Regions from separate parts of the Homo sapiens genome. Here region 2 is linked to region 1. Evidence: promoter capture Hi-C in human tissues and cell types (Jung and others, 2019). All regions are on one chromosome and are shown on one strand. The core of a region is centred on a gene start or on the middle of the fragment in contact, and the rest is flanking DNA. Distances in the headings are between cores, read along the strand shown.

Region 1 (6,637 bases), core at 2,151-4,650:
CGTAAGGGGCAGTGGCCACAGGATGTGGTATTTGGCTGGAATGATATAATTTCTGCCCTTTGACATCGTCATGTAACTGGGTTGTCAGCTAGAGCCCTAAATAATAAAATGCAAATAAAACCCTCATTCCTTGTAAAATGGGACCCGAGCCAACTTCCCAATCTCAATGAGGATTCTTGAAAGTCAGGTATTTCCCTGGGTCTCCTCGTATTCTGATTTTCTGCTTCCACTGAATCCTGGCTCTTTCTCCCACCCATCTTTCATATTTTAGCTGCCCTTTTTCTCTCTGTCTTTAATTTACCCAGAAAGATTCAGCTCCCTTACTTTATCTCTCCTAAACATAACTTATTGATGGCCATTACATACATATCTTACAAAATTTAGTGTCTGTGCATGGGGTAGGGGTGGGAGGATTGCATCATGAAATAGCACAGCAGATAAAATAGACTGTTAGCCGTAAGTTTAAAGGCCTCTGTCGCCCACTTTCCTGAGCCCCCAAGCCAAGCTGGGGAATGTTCTCTTCTATTAGCTGTCTGTTCAACTTCTTGGACCCCTTCATCCCCCTCCTAAACCTTTTCATCTCCACCCAGGCTCACGTACCCCACTCTCCCCAAAAACAAGGCCTATGTTTTTTTAGATTCAGAGAAAATTTTTTTTCATTTTTTGAAGATTTTTCCAAAGCTGTTGTCACTGAAGTACACCCAAATGCACATATTTAAAGTATACGATTCTGTCAGTTTTGACATTCATATGCCCATGAAACTATCACCTCTCAAACTACATTGCCATCAGCCCCCAAAGTTTCTTTGTGCCCTTTAAAATCCATTCCTCCCTCCCCATCATCCCCAGGTAACCACTGATCTGCTTTCTCTATATGTATGTCAGTTTGTATTTTCTGGTGTTTTATATAAATAGAATCATACAGTATGTTCTTTTTTGCCTTGCTTCTTTCACTCAGTATAACGATTTTGAGACTTTTCAATGTCATGTAATAGTTTGTCTTTATTGCTCAGTAGCATTCCATTGTATGGATATACTACAATTTATTCATTCATCCACTGATGGATTTGAGTTTCTTGTTGTTTTGCTTTGTGTGTGTGTGTGTGTGTGTGTGTGTGTGTGGGTGTGTGTGTGTGTGTGTGTTTGGCTATAACAAACAAAGCTCCTATGAACATCCACATTCAAGTCTCTGGGTTTCATGTTTTCCTTTTTCTTTGGTAAATACCTATAAGTAGATTGGTTGAGTCATATGGTAAGTATACGTTTAACTTCTTAGGAAACTTCCAAACTGATTTCCAAAGTAGTGGTGCCATCTTACACCTCCACCAGCAATGTATGACCATTTCAATTGCTCTGCGTCCTCACCAACATTGGATACAATCAGTCGTTTTAAAGTTAACCATCTCATTGCATGTTTTTGTGGGGTGTATGTATGTGTGTTTTTAAATGCACTTTGGTTTGGCCAACGCTTGGTTTCATTTATACCAAGGGGAGCATTTGCTAGGTTTATGGGGAATAAAACCAGATTATTTCTGTTGTTCTAGGATATTATTAATAGAGTCCTCTCTTCACCTCCAGAGTGTCCTGGTTTGTATGATAAAATATGTTTTCTCTGCTTCCAGCCCAAGTAGCCACGCTCCACGGCTGTGCTTCCACAGCCACGTTGCGCATCAAGGCATTCTGCTCAACGAAGAGTTTTCTCTGTTTTCCTGCTTGTCTTAAACTGTTTTTTCCTTACCGCACCAGGATTTCAGTGCGTGGCATAATGTAGCCCAGTGTTTGGGTGGGAGATGATGGTAGGTAGCAAGGCATTTTTGCGATCAAGTGCAAATAGCTTGCCTAAAAATAAAGCCAATAAAGAGAACCGTGGAGCCAGAGATGGAGGCAGTCCTGCCATGTCCTAATGACCCCATCATCACTTGGGTCGGATGCAACCAGACTTGAGGTAAGATTCCTTACCTTAACTTTTCAACAAGGAACCAAAAATTTCCCCCCGACCTTTTTTTTTTTTTTTTTGGTCTAAGCTAGTTTGACTTGGTTTTCTGACCAATATACATAGCAGGGGAATGTGCCTCAGAAAGGCAGTAGCATTTTCCAAACTTGGGCTGCCGCTAATTTTACAACCAAAGTACCTTCCGCCTGTGAGAGGTACTATTTTTGCTGACCCAGTCCTTGGAATTGAAACCAGATGCACTGGTCACATTGGTTGGGGATGAAACTTCAGAGAACACTAAACGTCCAGGGTCAAAGTATTCAACGATATCACCGCATGATTTGCTTAATCGAATACTCTAGCTCTAGGTATCCACTATAATGCAGAGGGCTCTTTAATCTTTAACCAAATTGTCATTTAGCAGTGTGATGCAAAAACTCTTCTGGGTTTTGGGAAGCAGCCCCCATTTCCCTCCTTCGTAATGATTAGACTTAATATTACAAAAACTTATCCTTGTTTACTCACAGCGCTAAATGTGCAAAGGAGCAAACCTGTATTTGACCTATGCGAACACACAGGAGGGTGGTGCGTGCCCTCTGCTAGGAGCACAATGCGTCGCTGGCGTTATTAGAGGACATCTCTCTGAGCGGAGCAAAGGTAATACACTGGTGGAAGAAAAGAAAAGGCCGAAAGTGGGGACAGAAATTAAGACGATCCCATTCAGTCTCCTCTGGAACGTTCTGCAAAATTCCGTGAGACCCTGGACCTACAGCGATGCACTCTCAGGGACTGCCCCGGCCTTCATCCCCACACCTCAAAGACAGACGAAAAGCAGCTGAGCAGATCTCGCCTCGGGCAATCCTAAACAGCCTCTACCAGGCACAACCAGTCCTAGGCCCCGGGCGGCAACCATGGTCCGGGGGCAGCTGACTTAGGACAGCCTCCCTGTGACCCGCCCTCGCCGGCACGGCGCCGGCTCCGCCCCTTAAGCCCCCTAAGTCCCGCCTCTGCGCTCCCGGGGCCTACCCCCGCGCTCATGGCCCCGCCCCCGCTTTTCCTACCCCATCGCGCCCTGGCCCCGCTCCCACACTCTATGACCCCGCCTCTCGCACTCCAGGCCCGCCCCACGCGCTCCAGGGTTCTGCTCTCCACCCATTTGTGCCAGGCCACGCCCCCACACCCATGGCTCCTCCTCTCGCACGCCAGGGCCTCCCCTCGCGCTCTCTGGTTCGTTCTCCACCCTCTTGAGCCTTGATGCCGCCCCCTCTTCCATGGCCCCGCCTCTCCCACTCCAGGCCCGCCCTTGCGCTCTCGGGTTCCTCTCTCCACCCACTGGTGCCAGGCCTCGCCCCGCGCCAGGGCCCCTCCCCCACGTGCCCTCGGGAGTCCCGGGGAGGAGTTGCCGCGCGGAGGAGGCGTGGCCGCGGTGCCTGCGGAGGCGCGAGCGGCGCGGCGCGGCGCGGCCGGGACTTTGGCTTTGACACCGACTGCGAGCGGGAGCCGTGCGGCTGGTGCTGGGTCTGGACTGGCTCTGGCGGATCCCCGCCCGAGTTGGGCGCAGGACTTTTTGCCGGGGTAAACGCAACTGCGGCGGCGCCGCCGCAAGCCCCGGTGCAGCCTCGGCGGCGGGTTTCGCCGCCGCTGCCGCCGCCTCCGAGCAGCCCTGCGGCTTCTATTCACTCTGGGAGAGCGATGCTAAGTTTCTCCCATAGAAAGAGCCGGGACACGCAGACCGAAGCGGCGTAGTCGGCTTCCAGGGCCTGACCAGTGACCCACACCCGCGCGGACGCCTAGGCTGGAGGCAGGGGGCCCGTGCTGTCCCGGGCTGGGCTCAGGCTTCCGAGCCGCAGGTGGAAGAGGAACCGGCGCCCCGCAGAGCGGCCGAGAGGTGGGGCGCGGGGACCCGCGGCAGGTCGGGTGGGGGGTCGATAAGCCCCTTCTCAGTGCCCGCTCCGGGGAGCACGGACTTCCCAGGTTGCAGGTAGCGCTGTGTCAGATGCGGAGCGTGGGGGAGGTGGAGTGGCCACCCCGTCTGCGCGAGCCCAAGTGTGGGTGACCCAAGTGTCAGAGTTGAGAGAGGCCTGGAGGAGAGGCATGAGGCTGATGGGGATAGGTCTCTTCCCAAGAGAAGCGGCTCGTAGCCTTTTTGGACTCCAGTGTGATAAAACCCGGACGTCCCTAGAGGAGAATCCACATGGGCCTAGCCTCATTGTGCCTGCGTTTTTAGGGGTTCACGGGCAGCCACCAGTCCCCGACTCCTGGTTACTAACTCTAGCACTAGGTAGGGGGTGCTAATGCAAATTTCTTAATTCAATGGGTTTCTATGTTTATTGATTTATTTTCTAGGCGGCCAAGTGAAAGGTAATTTTGGACACGCCAGGCATGGAAGATTCGGTGTTTGTCTATAGTAACCTCTTCAGTCCCTGAATCCTGCACCTTCCGTTTTTCTGTGCTTGTACGGCCTACTGGGCTTCCTCCCTAGCCAGAGAGCTCTTCTGCAGTGGTGCGGCCTTCCCGGGAGCCTGATCCTGGCGGACCATGGGGAGCACCCTGGGCTGCCACCGCTCCATCCCCAGGGACCCCTCGGACCTGTCCCATAGCCGCAAGTTCAGCGCAGCCTGTAACTTCAGCAACATTCTAGTGAATCAGGAGCGGCTCAACATCAACACTGCCACGGAGGAGGAGCTGATGACCCTGCCTGGGGTGACGCGTGCCGTGGCACGCAGCATCGTGGAGTACCGAGAGTATATCGGTGGCTTCAAGAAGGTGGAGGACCTGGCATTGGTCAGTGGTGTAGGCGCCACCAAGCTGGAGCAGGTCAAGTTTGAGATCTGTGTGAGCAGCAAGGGCAGCTCAGCGCAGCACTCTCCCAGTTCCCTGCGGCGGGACCTGCTAGCGGAGCAGCAGCCTCACCACCTGGCCACAGCTGTGCCCCTCACCCCACGTGTTAACATCAACACAGCCACCCCGGCCCAGCTCATGAGCGTGCGAGGCCTCTCGGAGAAAATGGCCCTCAGCATCGTGGACTTCCGCCGTGAGCATGGGCCCTTTCGCAGCGTTGAGGACCTAGTGAGGATGGATGGTATCAATGCCGCCTTCCTGGACAGGATCCGGCACCAGGTGTTTGCTGAGAGGTCCAGGCCCCCATCCACCCACACGAACGGGGGACTGACCTTCACCGCCAAGCCTCACCCGAGCCCCACTTCCCTGAGCCTGCAGAGTGAGGACCTGGACCTGCCGCCAGGGGGGCCCACCCAGATTATCTCCACTCGGCCGTCCGTGGAGGCCTTTGGAGGCACAAGGGATGGGAGGCCTGTGCTGAGGCTGGCCACCTGGAACTTGCAGGGCTGTTCCGTGGAGAAGGCCAACAACCCCGGGGTGCGAGAGGTGGTGTGCATGACACTCCTGGAAAACAGGTGAGGACAGGAACCACCATGGGTGTTGGGTGTGAAGGCAACTTGTGCGTGACCTCATCTATGGATGCAAATGAATGGATTCTTTTGCGGGTAGGGAGGGTGCAAGAGTTTTTAATCAATGTTCTTGAAGCCTCAGCCAATACCGTCACCTGAGAATGGGCTGTCCTTCTGCTCCAGAATTTTCTGAATACAGCTGGGCTTGTGACCCATGTCTTGAGTGTGAGATATCTGAGACTGATTCATAATTTTGGGGTAAGCAGAGGTTGTGTTTTTGTTACTGCTTTGGAGGATGCTGGGTCTACACCAAGTCAGGCACTCAGAGCATGGGAACTGGTGCAGTTTCGCATGTGAGAAAGAGCTCATTGGATTTTGTTTATTAATGGGAGGGAAAATCATATTTGTTCCATCAAATATGCCTATTTGTGCACACAAAATCATCTTAAAGGCCAAGTATTTGCAAACACATACAAGTGTCTATATTTACCAAAATGCTATGAATGAATCACTCTCCATTCTTTTTCCTTATTTAACCTGGAGTTGGTTTTCAGCCCTAAAATTGTAGCCCAAAATGTGTGTAACCTTTTCTGTGCCATAGCCAGAAAAAAGCAAGCTGACGTGTGTGTGTGAAAATTGGCCGGATTTTCCCCATTTAAACCAAAGAAAAGAGTCCAGTAGGATAGGCCGTTACCACAGAGCGTTTATGTTATTCACAATACTGCTCTCTGTAGGAATTTCTGTTAGCCTCGTCATAAACAAAAACAATATTATTTTGGCAGTAACTCCTGCTGTTAGTAAAATAGCAAACTGTATAATGTAATCAGGTGTGGGAAAGAAAGAAATATTTGTGATGGTCCCTTCCAGGTCATAAGAGCTGTGATCCTGGACTTGAGGCGTTTTGCCCTGCCACCCACCAGGGGTGCAGTGTTTGTGGCTACTCGTTGATTTCCTTTGCACTGAGTTGTTGGTGAGGCTGGCGGCGGGGGGGCAGCAGTTTGGTGACACGAAGTGAACTCTCAGCGGGAAATCACAGTGCATGATGGCAGATCACCAGGAAAATTAGTGAGGAGAAAAGCAGGTCACAACGTTTCCTTGGCACTGACCCAGTGGCATGCTCTCATCACTGAGAGAGGGACTCCACACTGGGTCAGGGAACTGGACTGGGGAGCCCTTGAATGCTCTCCCTGCACTGCTGTGTCCTCTCTTTTGCAGCCTAACTCACTCCTTCTGCAAAGTCTTCTTGTGCACAGGTGAGAGCTGTACTCGGCACCGGGAGATATTTATAAAGAAT
Region 2 (7,238 bases), core at 914-3,413, 200 kb after region 1:
AGGTAGAAGCCAGAGACCATGGGGCTAGTTGGCCATCCTGGCCCCTTTGGGTATCATGTTTCTGAGTCCTGGAGACCAGCCTTGAAGCTGCTGCTTTATCTAAGGAGGAGATGGATGTATGATATCATGTCATTATTCACTCGGTAGCTGAAGAAGAATTTAAGTATATTTTCCCAGAGGTCTTGTACCATGTATTTCTTTGATTAAAGTGGTTTAAACAGTATACTTGGCATTTATTGAGAATATTCTCCCAAATGGTGGCATTTGCAGTACAAGTCAGCTAAGATTGCTAGTGCTACTTAGAAGTCTCAAGCAATTCAAGTGTAGGATTAATCTCCTAAAGCTGGAATTGGATCAAAATTAAAATTGCAAAGCCACAGGCTAAGCAATGTCAACTCTCAAACTGTGGGGCTGCTGAGGCTCCCAAATTGCCTTCCAGAGAAATCAAAGAGCATTCTTTTTCATCTAATGGTTGGAAATCTCTTTCCCAACAGGTAGGGGTGGGGTAGGTCTCCAAATTAAGGAATACTGGTAAATAAATCTCAGCCATCTCTTTCAGCATCAGGGGGAAAATGCAAATAGGATTTTTATCATTGTAAAATTTATATTTGTGAAAGCCTTGTTCAATCGACTACAATTTCCACACACACAAAAAACCACATGTAAGAATGGCTGCCAAATAGAAATAAAAATAACAGCTAACCTCTTTATTAGTGCTTTGTAGGTGCCAAGCACGATGATAACTGCAATATATGCACTAAGCATTCTCTCATTTAATTATCAAAATAATCTCCTAAAGTAGGTATTTTCTTTACTCCATTTTACAATGTGGAAGTAGTACAGCCTAAGAGTGGATTATGTAATCACTATGTTAATGCTGCCTTCTCCCATCCAGAAGTGCCACTTTATATTAGTAAGTTATCAATTTGAATCACAATTTTTAGCACAATCTCAGCACATTTTTTAAAAAGCAAATACCCATTAAAGAATACAGAAGCAGAAGCAAAGAGACCCTAACAAAGGAAAGTAAATACCATGATTAAAATTATTTTAATCTTTACATAATGGCTTTACATAATTAAGTTTTACATAATGGCTTCAAAAGACTGGCCAGATTCCATGTTATCTATAATAAACAGCAAAATATCTGCTGGCCGCAAGACCAAATAACTATTATCAGCAAAAATGCTAAAATAGGACATGCACCACAGGCGAGAGAACCATGCAGTTTTACCTATCCTACAAACAGATTTTCAGTCACTGACAATGCCAAGTTGAAGCTAATATATTATAAAAACCTGAACAAAGTTAATTTGACCAAATATTGTCGGCCTTTATGATCTCAAAACTATGCCCTGCAGATAAACATTAGCTAATTTCTTCTCAAATGCTTAAATGAGGTTCTGAAATGTATTATAGCCCTGTAAAACACAAAACTGCTAAGGGCTTAAAGTGAGCAATTTAAAAGTATTATTCATAACGTTCACATCATAATTTGCTAAACTTGAAGATAATTTTGAAAATCCCATTATTTTTATCTTTGAATAAGTGCTTAAATATTTATTTGATGATGATTAACAATTTCAGTGAAGCATTAACAAGTTCATGGACAAGAATCAAGCTTCGGTTCCCAAACTACTTACCGGAGCCTAAGCAAGCCAGGAATTTAACACAATAGGAAGAACCAGGGATTGCATGCTCCATCTAAGACATTAAAAAATCAATTAGAGGCCAGGCATGGTGGCTCACACCTGCAACCTCAACACTTTGGGAGGCCAAGGCGGGCAAATCACTGGAGATCAGGAGTTCAAGACCAGCCTGGCCAAAATGGTGAAACCCCATCTTCACTAAAATTACAAAAATTAGCTGGGTATGGTGGCGGGTGCCTGTAGTCCCAGCTACTCGGGAGGCTGAGACACAAGAATCACTTGAACCCAGAAGGCAGAGGTTGCAGTGAGCCAAGATCGTGCCACTACACTCCAACCTGGGCAAAGAGCAAGAATCTGTCTCAGAAAAAAACAAAAAACAACAAAGAAATCAATTAGAAAACAAAAACGTAGTGTGGGCTACCCAACACTTGTCTGTAGGCGGCTAAATTGGCCACAAGTTTGTAACTCCCACATGAAAGCTTAGAACCAGAATCTGAAGCTGTCTTCCTAATATAATTGCTTCCTGTCACAAAGAGCCTATATAACAGATTATAAATTTTGATGAATGCAATGGAGTTTATATACAGGTAATACTCGTCTTGTCGCACATTTACATGTCCTGAGTGGGAATTAACCATAACATAGAAATAATTTGAATATTTTTAAATGTCTTTGTTTTTGCTTATAAGATCACAGATAATTGTTTTAGTACATAAAAATGAACTACCACTATTGAAATGGCATTTTACCTGCTTAAGAAATCGGTCAGATGCGTGGCTATGCTTAGCTAATACGCTTGGCAGAGCAGGATTGGCATACTCAAACTGAGGATTGTAGGTATAGTCAGATTTGAAGAATCTCAGTTTTTCTTTCTCTAAGTTGGTGGGTTTTATAGCAGTCAATATACAAAATTTCTTCCCAGAAAAGTCATCTCCCTTTTCAAAGCTTCTAGACAGCTGAGGCTTTGGCTTTGGAAGAGTGGAGAAATGGCACCACTTGACCTTGCTTTTGGGTTTAGGTGGCAGTACTATGCCATTCCCTGTAACAGAGATATCATGTGTAAACTTTACAGGACTTGACACTGAACTAGTGACAAAAACAGCAGGCCGCCTCTCCAGGCAGTACCAAGTACCACTGCTTGTCACAGGCACCAGGGCTTTCATCCTGCGAGGATCTTTGCTACGAGAAGTGTTAGGAGATTTGCTGGGTTTTCTACATCTTTTGGAGTAGGTGGAGGAAGACTGTTTTTGTGAATGATACTTTTTTTCCTCCTTGCTCTGTAGTAGGACATTGTAACTACTGGTTCCAGTTGTGAAAATGTCTTTTAGCACTCCCGAGGACAAATGTGAAATGCTTCTTTTGTTGTCAATGATCAATGAATCTTCTGCATTTAGAATAGACTTCTTAGCAAGTTCTTGCTCAGGCCAGTGAAGCTTTTCTGTGTTAATAAACAAAATCAAAACAAAAGAAATAACAAAGATACCAGATGAAGCAAACTGTTTATTAGGAAAGGTATTCTGAAGATTCTATAAACTTCGTAATTTTGCAGTAATCATTAGAAAAAAACATTTTAAATATTAAAAGGATATATTACTAAACTTTGGTCACGCTAGCTACTGTCATTTCTCTTCTCTATGAGTATATATAAGTTAAATTATCTAAAAAATCCTCAGCTTCAAACCACTTAGATGATCAAAGTCTAATATGTGAGATAATATACATAAATAATCTGAATACTTGATTCTACAAAAGAATGTAGATTTTGGCTGGGCGCAGTGGCTCACACCTGTAATCCCAGCATTTTGGGAGGTCGAGGCAGGCAGATCACTTGAGCAGGAGCTGGAGACCAGCCTGGCCAACATGGTGAAACCCTGTCTCTACCAAAAAATACAAAAATTAGCCAGGTATAGTGGTGCGCCCCTGTAATCCCAGCTACTCAGGAGGCTGAGGCATGAGAATTGCCTGAATCCGGGAGGCAGAGGTTGCTGTGAGCTGAGATCGCACCACTGCACTCCAGCCTGGGTGACAGAGTGAGACCCTATCTTAAAAAAAAAAAAGAATGTGGATTTCATAGAAATGATATATTTTAAAATAGTATTTTCTATAATAAAGTAAAATCCAAGGCACTTTCAAAGACAATACAATCTTGAAATTTGGAAATATATATAAAGGTAGCTATCAGTAAAAGGACAACAAAGCCTTATTTACTCAAAAACCATTGTTAAGATTAAACAGATGGCATCTTCAAGCATGTTTTAGTAATGTCGCTTAGTATGAATAACTGGTTGATTTTCTTCATAATTCTAAGCTGTACGTTAAGGTTAAAGAAAAACAAGGGTTTTTTCTTGGCAAGTTAGAAAAACAAATTTTAATAACTATTACAAAGGTATTAATATATCAAATGGCAAGTGAAGGAGAGGGCAGCTTTGTTTTTAGAACTCACAAGTGCTTTAAACAGATAAGAATCACTGGATATACTGTTGTGCATTCACTACTTTAAAACTGTGTTGATCTGCATTCTTTCATTCAACAAATACGTAGAATGCTACTAATTCAGCACATGGCTCTGATAAACAACTGTATAAACACATTGTTCTTACCTATAACCAGCTTCTAATCTGGCTCTGAAGACAAGGCATTCCTATGAAGATTTCAACAATAATACAATGTAGTATATAATTAAACATGAAAAACAAAAGACACAAACAATAACCTACAGTTCAGATGAGGAAGGAAGCAATATGAAGAGAAACAGATGAGATTTCAAGTAGGCCCTTAAGGGTTTTCAGATTCAATTCTAAACTGATGAAGAGTTTGTCTTAAATACATCTCATCTGAACAAGACTCCAGCTCAACTCCTGTCAATAAGTGTTCACTGAATAAACAAATGAATAAATAAATGACCCTAAACATGCAATTCTGCAACCATTCTGAATAAATATGTACTTGTAGTTCTGGGACCATTCAAATATGAGATAACTGCAGACCTGAAAATATAACAGGAAAGACCCTAAACCAGTAGTTCTTAACAGAAGGCAATTTTACCCTCCAGGGAACATTTGGCAATGTCTAGAGACATTTTGGTTGTCACAACTGGGGAGAGGGTATTGACATCTAGCAGGTAAAGGCCAGGGATGCTGCTAAACATCCTTCACTGCATAGGACAATCTCCCACAACAAAGAAAGATTCATTCCAAAATGTCAACAGTATCAAGGTAGAGAAACTCTTATCTAAATGTTAGTTTTTAAAACCCAGGAGTCACAGAGTCTAGGGTAAAGAGACAGTACTAAAGTAGATAATAATCCAAATATGTAAGGTATTTAAAAGTCCTTTTACTTACATTTTCTAGGCCAGCATGTGAAATCTGAATTTTGGTGTCTAAAAGATAACATAAAGGTATTTCTAAAGCTTGCAGGGGCTAAATGTCTATTATATGTGTAAGTTTAGAGATAGGAGCTAGATCACATAGGGTCATGTTGAAGACAGGTTGTACAAAGAAGCTGTTCAATAAATGTTAAAGACTCAACAAGACAAAATTAACTGGACAAATAAACAAAACGTTCATCATAGGCTGGTAGCTCCCAGTTTCTCAGGAGTTTCATAGACTTACGTGTTGCCAACTAACAGTCAAAACTGAGCAGGCCAAGCAAACAGGCTAAGGAATACCAGGACACAGGCTGTAGCCCAAATGCCCAGGAATAATGTCGGTTTCCCTCAAACGACACCACAAGCTTAGGAGACAAGAGGTGATAATGAAAAGAAAACCGAAATAGATACAAAAAGGGAAAGACTGAAAGAACTCAAATAAGCATAAGCCTAGGAAGTAGGGTAAGGACTAGGTGTAGCCGGAAACGTAAAGGGAGGAAATCAGGTTGTTTTCTCAGTTGATCTTCGTAATAAAAAGGGACAGAGTTACACCAAATTAAAATCAATAAATAAGACTACTCTGAAGAATTTGTTTTGATGATTCATTACATATATGTTGTACTGATTTTTTAAAAATGAATACTCAATGTGAAAATGCTCTGTTTTCTAAGACCTAGTAGCTTTACGACCAAAGAACTGAGCTTGCTGAGTTTTTTGTCGTAAAGCATCAGTGACCTCCAAATTCATAATTTTGTGCCATCTGAAACAGCCTACACATTTCCAGATACTAAAAAAAAACGTCCTAAACCACCTGTCAAAATACTCAAGGAGGAATGAAGTATGGCAGCGGGGTGACAGTATATGCCTGACAGAACCTCTCTCCCCAGGAATTACAGCATTTCAGTTCACTTGCTAATTATCTCCTGAGAAGCTTAGCACGAGTCCTTTTGAAGCTCCATCTGCTGCTGAATAAAGTTTGGGAGTGTTAATGGTCTATTTATTTTACAAATGTCAATCCTGTTAAATGCTGGATAGCCCATGAAGTTCATAAAAGTGGGGCACATGGTCCTTCACGCAACTCATACAAGATGGATATAAATTAATTTCTCAGAGTCACAGTAATTGTATTTCAGTTACATTAAAAAGTATCATAGAACCTAAGAGATTGTTTTTGTAATTTTAAATACTATTGCTTACTTTGTGAAAAAAAGACTTTTGAACATGGTTAAGAACACTAAGAGGCCGATAACATTTGACACAATTTATTAAAGAACATCCTATTCTCTGAATCCTTTTTCCTGAAAAATTAAAACATTTTAAAAGCATAAACAGACTTATTTGGAGGAAGTGTAACTCGTGTTTTCCCAGAAAAGTAATAAGGTAATTAAAAAGCATACTTTCTCACATTAAAGGTAGTCATTATATAATGTAAAACTTAGCTATAAGCAATCTGTTTCACTATATTGGAGAGAATGAAAATAATTTGTTGATAGAAGAAAATCGTTCACCCCAACCTGATTACCCATACTGAGGAAAAAAGGGTAAATAATATTTGTACATTAAAATTGATAGTCTATTCGCAAGTAGGTGAATATACTGAAGTTATCAACACAATGAAAACTTAGTATATATCTAGAACAGGAGAAAAGGATACCAAGATTCCTGACATCCATTCCCAGCTCTTTCAATGACCTCTCTGTAATATTAGCCTAATCATTAAACCCATCGGTACCTCCCGTTCCCCATCTAAAAGAATGGGGGAAAAGGGAGACACTGCTCTCTAAAAGTAGTGTTTCACAACTGTGAGTAGGTGAGGTTTCATAGTAATCAGGAGGTCTCTGGCTGAAAAGGAAGATCACCAGAAACAAAGCCTGGTGGCAAATACTATTCAACCAGTTTTGACCTACAAATGGAAATTTCGTATGGTTCACTAATACTTACGAAACCTGAGAATCTGGGATAATTTTATACCACAAAACAATAGGTTACTTCATTACAAACAAAAGAAAGGCCAAAACAAAACAAAATAATCCCCAAACAAGATAAACTTTAATTTTATCAAGACTTTCATTACTAAAAACTCAAAAGAAGCTAGGCACAGTGGCACATGCCTGTAGTCCCAGCTATTCAGGAAGCTGAGGCTGGAAGACTACTTGAACCCAGGAGTTTGAGTCCAGCCTAGACAACATAGCAAAACTCCAATTCTAAAAAACAAATGAACA

The links. The method cuts DNA at HindIII sites, captures the fragments that hold promoters and counts their contacts. A contact is called where the count stands out against the background at its distance.
Region 2: a contact is called between a fragment that was not itself captured here and the fragment with the promoter of EEPD1 in region 1, in 1 of the 25 tissues and cell types used here (spleen).

What each region holds. Positions count from the first base shown.
Region 1 is chr7:36,149,854-36,156,490 of GRCh38, forward strand. It overlaps EEPD1 (endonuclease/exonuclease/phosphatase family domain containing 1), which reads left to right and starts at 3,401. Exons shown (of 8, transcript NM_030636.3): 1 at 3,401-3,821; 2 at 4,280-5,349. The coding sequence starts at 4,472. RefSeq lists a silencer at 2,813-3,532. The HindIII fragment of the contact is 14,356 bases long and covers 1-6,637 here.
Region 2 is chr7:36,354,504-36,361,741 of GRCh38, forward strand. MATCAP2 (microtubule associated tyrosine carboxypeptidase 2) reads right to left here. Exons shown (of 7, transcript NM_001199706.2): 2 at 2,399-3,087. Among named protein-coding and RNA genes, the nearest start is that of MATCAP2, 9.1 kb to the right of the region's middle. RefSeq lists an enhancer at 5,604-6,321. The HindIII fragment of the contact is 3,813 bases long and covers 258-4,070 here.